2 separate regions of the Homo sapiens genome follow, and region 2 is linked to region 1. The links are contacts of gene promoters, found by promoter capture Hi-C in human tissues and cell types (Jung and others, 2019). All regions are on one chromosome and are shown on one strand. Each heading gives the region's core, a stretch centred on a gene start or on the middle of the fragment in contact. The rest is flanking DNA. Distances are from core to core; before and after follow the strand shown. Region 1 holds the start of RNF139 (ring finger protein 139). Region 2 has its middle 95 kb from the start of FER1L6-AS2.

Region 1 (3,249 bases), core at 231-2,730:
TAGCCCTGAGTTTATAATCCTAGTTCTGACTCGTACTATCTTTGGATATACTAGCTGCTGACTACTAACTGAACAAGGTAGTAACCTTGTCATCTTGTAACTTACCTAAGTCTGTTTCCTCCTCTATAAAACAAACTATCAAAATAAAGCCGATGAAAAGATTGAAGTAAAACATAAAACCCTTAGCACAGTGCCTAGTATCCATTAAGCAGTAGATAAATGATGGCGGTCATTATTAGGGAGTAGGGTAAAGAACAGAAGGTTAAAAACATGAGTAGCAGTAAGGACTTTTGGGTGGGGATTCGGTCTTTCTACTACACATTACACATACCTCTAAGCAGAGAAAGGGGTTGGAGGGGAGTTTGATAATGTGACTAATAATCCTCCTCCCCCTGGGGGGGATCTTGATAAAGGATAGCCACCCACATGGAGGCCTAATATAAACTGGATTGCAGAATGCACTTGAGCTGGGAGCCCAAGCGGGCCAGGCTTCTTGATTCCTATTTTATCCCCTTTAACCTAGGATAGCTAGGTCTATAGTGCAGACTCAGACCTAACTTACACTTTCATTTGCAGCTGAAGTTTCGGAACAAAGACAAAGATAGCCAGATCATATTAATTACACGGATAGGCAAGAAAGCATGAGCCCTGAGGAGGAAGGAAGGGACTGTCCAGGTGTACTTACCTCAAAGATGAGAAATATCAAAGACAGGAAACCCTAGGTTCTTGCCCTTCAGTCGCTATCTCCTTGCCATTAGTAAAATGCGGCCGATGAATGTCCTCACTTCTGTCCATCTGGGCAGGAGGTGGGAAGGGTGACGTGCAAATGGATGGGAGGAACCCTTTTTTCGGCAGCACCCACCACACCCAGCCTAGTGCCACGCACCGCAAGCGCTCCATAAACGCACACAGCGTCGCCTCTACCAGGATCCCGGGCGGCCTTCGCGGGATTTCTCCTGGCGTCGGCTTTCAGACTCCCGAGGGTGGGATAAATCGAGAGGGTGGCATCCTTTGGCTTTTCTTCTCCCAGGCAGCTCTGAACCATGTTTATGCAACGTTTAATGGGCTCTAATAAAACGGCTAATAATTTTGATCCGCGGAAGCACCGACTCGCTCGCTAAGCCGAATCTGCGAGGGTGAAGCTGCAACTCCAACGCCGGAAAGCGCGGCTACCGAAAAGCGCATGCGCCACGGGGTGGCACGAAGCTAGAGTAAGCTGAGGAGGTGGGCGGAAACCATGGCAACCATGGGTGATGACGACATGGGGAGCGTCTCTAGCGCTGGATTATGACGCTGGATTATGACGCAGGCAGTGGGCGCGGACTCTGCGGTTCGCTTGACTGACGGCGCAGCCTCCGGGCCTAGCCACAGCAGCAACGGCAGAGGCCAGCGGGCGAGGTCAAGATGGTGGCTCCGCGGGCGGGGGAGGCAGTGGAGGGAGGAGGAGTCAGACCTTAGCCAGCCGGAAACACCGAAACCCAGAGACCTCCTGGGGAGCCGCCGCCGCCGCCCTCTCGGCCATCGCTGCCTCCGCCGCCTGCTCCACCTCGAGGGACGCGAGCGGGCGGCGGGGCTGGCCGTGAGAGAGACAGGAGAGGAAGGAGGGCAGGGGCGGAGTTGCCCGCCTTAGCCCCCGCCCCCGGCCGCGGCCCCGGGCCCTGCCCCGCGCGGCCCTGCCCGGCCCACCGAGCCCTGGTGTGGCAGCGGCTCATGGCGGCCGTGGGGCCCCCGCAGCAGCAGGTGCGGATGGCCCATCAGCAGGTCTGGGCGGCGCTCGAAGTGGCGCTCCGGGTGCCCTGCCTTTACATCATCGACGCCATCTTCAACTCCTACCCGGATTCCAGCCAAAGCCGGTTCTGCATCGTGCTCCAGATCTTCCTCCGGCTCTTTGGTAAGGGAACAGGGTACCGTACGTCCCGGGACGGCTATGCGGGCCGAGACGTTCCCCGGGGAGCGGGCAGGCGCGCAGAGGCCATGGGTCGAGTATGTGTCTTTGGGAACTACAGTTTCATCCCTCAAAGGGTCGTCTTTACGGGTTGGGAGGGGGAAGGAGATGATACTTGTCTGAGTTGACAGCGGAGCAGTCCCCCTAGCGAGGATTCAGTGTTGTACCTGAGTGAGGTGGGGAGAAAGTAAGGATGTGTGAGCATGCAGCTCTTTGCCCGTTTGCCTTGGGAAATGAGTACTGGCTTACCGCGTCCTATGCGACAGCCTTCGAAAAACAACTCTGCTATCCCAGTCTCGTCGTGTGTGACCTTGGACTTCTGCCAAGGCGTGGGCCTCAGTTTCCCTTTATTACCAAATGCCGAGTACTTGTATGTTGTCACTTCTGCTGCACCCGAGGGTCCACAGGATCGTGAAGTGTCTGCAGTAAATGACATCCAAGCGAAGGAGACAGGGTTTTGAATGTCAGACCTTGAAACCATTACCAAAAATTCTCATGAAAGCGGCGATGCTTAAATCGAGTCCTAAAATTTTCCATGAATAAACGAGAAGGTATTGAAAGTGACTGTAAAAAGTGATGAGACATTTGCCAAAGAGACTTCTGAAAATCATTGTCTTTGTTTCGTATGGATGGAGTGTTAAAAGTATCTTATATTTCATTTCTTCCTTTCCATCTTCACTTACATCATCAGAGGGAGATGCATTTATGCGTAAAATAATTTTTTAAGTAATTGTAACTTGGCAAATTTTGTTGATGAGGTAATTCTGGTGATCGGTCTTAAGTAGGCTAGTGCTTTTGAAGTGTTGCTGAGGGCAGACTGATGGTGAGGTCTTTACCAAGCCTTTCTGAATTACAAGCCATCTGTTGCTTTATTCCTTCAAAAGAGGAGTGGCAATAAAGGCCGAATTTTGTTCTTAGCAATAAATAGCCATATTTTACATTTATCTGGTATTTTCCTTTTGCAAAGCATTTTCACTGGTAGGTATTATCTAACCTAACCTTCAAACATCCCCCAGAGGTGGGTGGTGGTATTGTCATTTTACAAACCAGGAAACAGGGTCATAGAGGTTAAGTGTTTTGCTCTTGGTAGGCTGCCGCTAAGTGGTTGCCAGAGCCTGAGCTTAAAAATCTTTTGACATTAAATATGGTTTACTTTCCTCCCTAACAGCTGCAATCCAGATACAGAATGCAGTAGTAATGATCATATGCTAGATCTTAAAACTAAAGATGTAAACGTGATGTTCAGCCCAAGCTGCTTCAGTAACCCACCTGCTACCTAATTCCAGCCTTTCCTACTTGCCACT
Region 2 (3,249 bases), core at 460-2,959, 210 kb before region 1:
AATTTTTGTATTTTTAGTAGAGACAAGGTTTGGCCTTGTTAGCCAAGCTGGTCTCAAACTCCTGACTTCAGGTGATCCACCCGCCTCGGCCTCCCAAAGTGCTGGGATTACTGGTGTGAACCACCACACCCGCTGCACCATTTTACATCCCCACCAACAATGCAGAGTGAACTTTTAAAGAAAGACCTCAGCACTGTTGACATTTTGGGCTCAATACGTGTTTGTTGTTTAGTACCATCACCGTCCTCTACCCACTGGATTCCAGTAGCACCTTCCCCCTTCCTAATTGTGACAGCCGAAAATGTCTCCAGGCATTGCCAAATGTTCCCTGGGGGCCCCTGGTTGAGAACCACTGAATTTAATCATAGCTCTCCCCAGCTTAAGCCTCCCATTGCCCTGAACATCCAAACCGTCTCATAGCTGACAAAGTCCTCGAGACTTCTTGGACCTCATCTCCTTCCACCTTCCAGGCACTTACTGGGTATTGGCCACAGTGACTACTTCTAATCTCTCAGACACAACAAACAAGGTTGTTCCTACCTCAGGGCCTTTGCAGTTGCTGCTCCCATCACCTAAACATCACTCCCGGGTTTCTGCATGGCCAGCAACTCCTTACCATTCACACCTCAATTCATATGCCACCTCCTCAGGGAGGCGTTCTGCGATCACCCAATCCCAGCAGCCACTCTCCCAACTGAGTCAGCCACAGTGTCTTGATGTTAAAGACTTTAAGAAATATATAAGTCATAGAATTTTTTAGAGAAGACAATGTTGTGGTCATTTTATTCGATGTCTTTATCACCATCTATGATGTTCATTTTTTTGCTGTTTTTTGTTTTGTTTTTTTGGAGATGGGGTCTCACCATGTTGCCCAGGCTGGAGTGCAGTGGCTATTCACAGGCATGATCACAGCTCACTACAGCCCTGACTCCAGAACTCATTCCTCCAACCTCTCCTCTCACCTCAGCTTCCTGAGTAGCTGGGACTACAGGCACATGCCACTGTACCCAGCCATGTTCACATTTTTATTATTTATGGAATAAAAATATAATTTATTGCCCAAATTAGGACATTTTGGGAATGAAGGGTCATGCTAAGAATGGTTAACAGGTGTTAATAATCCCAGGAAAACCAGGGACCTACTGTCACTAATTATCCATCTCCAGGCTAGGACGTGGGCTCCTGGAGAGCAGGGAGTTGGTCTGTTTTGTTCATCGTGTATCCCCAGCACCTACAATAGTAACTGACATGCTGTAGAGCTCAGTAAATATTGATGAAAATATGGCAAAACTTTCTGACTTCAATTACTTCAACTATAAAAATGGGTGTAATAACTATGACAACCTAGAAACTGTTGTGAGGACTAAATGATTATCACAAATGTGCCAGCTGAGCCTCAATAGAGTGCTTATTTCCTTCTGTGCTATTGCCATGGAGAAGTAAAGAGCTGGGCTGGTCATAGTGGCTCACACCTGTAATCCCAGAACTTTGGGAGGCCAAGGTGGGCGGATCAGTTGAGTCCAGAAGCTTGAGACCAGCCTGGGCTACATGGCGAGAATCTGTCTCTACAAAAAATTAACCAGGCATTGTGGCACATGCCTGTAGTCCCAGCTACTTGGGAGGCTGAGGTGGGAGGACCATCACATGAGCCTGGGAGGTCAAGGCTGCAGTGAGCCATGATCATACCATTGCACTCCAGCCTGGGTGAGAAAGCGAGATCTTGTCTCAAAAAAAAAAAAAAAAAGGAAAGAAAGGAAGAAAAAAGAGGAGAACTTAACCCCTGGAAGTGGAATTCCAGAACTGATGTGGTGGTCTAGTCCAGATTCACTATCCCAGCCCAATATGAGACGCGCCTGGGTGTGTTTATAAAAATACCAGTGCCCAGGCTCTCTCGGCCAAGAGAAATGGCAGCTCTGGAGGTGAGGCTTGGGCAGGCTGATAGTTTTTAAAGTTTCCTGGGGGATTCAGACACACAAGGAGGGCTGAGGCCTCTGGATTAGGTTAAATCTACAAATTCACAAAAGAGGAATCAGGCCCAGAAAGGGGGCCTGCCCCCACAGTCACACACTCCACATGGAAGAATCTGCACTGGATCCCACATCTCCTGGCTCCTAGTCAGTCCACTAGGAGGCAAGAGACCCACTCTATCAGATGCCTTCTCCCGGCGGTTAACTTTTCAGCTTTGGAAAGATCCCGGGGACATTCTATGGTAGGACCCAGGCTTGCTGAGGAGCCCCAGTCTTCATCTGCAGGAGCAATGAGCCAAGTACAAAGCCAGGTTAAGCATCTTGTCGGATGGCCCTGATCATCGTGCCCCTCCCAGCTCTCAGCATGGGGGCTGTGGTAGACAGCCTCCATCTGCCCCTGCAGACCCAGCCTCCAGATTCCCTCTGCACCCTCTCCACCTCCTCTATGCCCAAGGAGGCTGGCCTCTGAGCTCTGCATCACCCATGTTCCTCTGCCTTCTAATTCAGTTCAGCCAATGGGTGAGAGGAAAGTGGAAATGACGCTGGATTCTGGGAGGAAGACCTAGTCAGGTGACTCCAACACCCCAGCTGACTATTTCACACAGTCAGTACATAGTAAATATCCTTCCTTTCTGACTCATGACAAGACGAGGGTAAAATCTGTCCAATGCTTGCAGGAGGAAATGGAAATTAGCCTATATTTATAGCACAGCACTGACACAGAAGAATCATTTAGTAAAACAGAACAACAAAAATAAAAATCAGCTTTGTTCTCCGTTCCCTATGTTTGTTGTTCTTGTGAATTATATTTTTCTTCTCTGGTACAGGGCCACCTTCATTTTCCTTTTTCTAATTTTGTTTACTTTAAGAAACCATTCGCAGGCCGGGCGCAGTGGCTCACACCTGTAATCCCAGCACTTTGGGAGGCCAAGGCAGGTGGATCACCTGAGGCCAGGAGTTCAAGACCAGCCTGGCCAATGTGGTGAAACCCCGTCTCTACTAAAAATATAAAAATTAGCCTGATGTGGTGGCATACGCCTTGTAACTCCAGCAACTCAGGAGGCCAAGGCAGGAGAATCACTTGAACCCGGGAGGCAGAGGTTGCAGTGAGCCAAGATCGCACCACTGCACTCCAGCCTGGGGGATGAAGCGAAACTCCATCTCAAAAAACAAACAAACAAACAAACAAACAAAAACCATTCGGGGCTTTTTGACAACTTCTTGAGGGGCTTTCAAAGGGCTCTTGTAATTAGAGTAATACTTTTCCCACTGTTTGGAAAGT

Evidence for each region. The method cuts DNA at HindIII sites, captures the fragments that hold promoters and counts their contacts. A contact is called where the count stands out against the background at its distance.
Region 2: a fragment that was not itself captured here is called in contact with the fragment with the promoter of RNF139 in region 1 in 1 of the 25 tissues and cell types used here (mesenchymal stem cells).

The regions. Positions count from the first base shown.
Region 1 is chr8:124,473,400-124,476,648 of GRCh38, forward strand. RNF139 (ring finger protein 139) reads left to right here and starts at 1,481. Exons shown (of 2, transcript NM_007218.4): 1 at 1,481-1,891. The coding sequence starts at 1,711. RNF139-DT (RNF139 divergent transcript) reads right to left here and starts at 1,164. Exons shown (of 2, transcript NR_108047.1): 1 at 686-1,164. RefSeq lists enhancers at 569-758, 846-1,390, 1,099-1,428, 1,391-1,936, 1,937-2,480 and a silencer at 1,449-1,758. The HindIII fragment of the contact is 10,823 bases long and covers 1-3,249 here.
Region 2 is chr8:124,264,724-124,267,972 of GRCh38, forward strand. No RefSeq gene overlaps it. Among named protein-coding and RNA genes, the nearest start is that of FER1L6-AS2, 95 kb to the left of the region's middle. The HindIII fragment of the contact is 3,784 bases long and covers 1-3,249 here.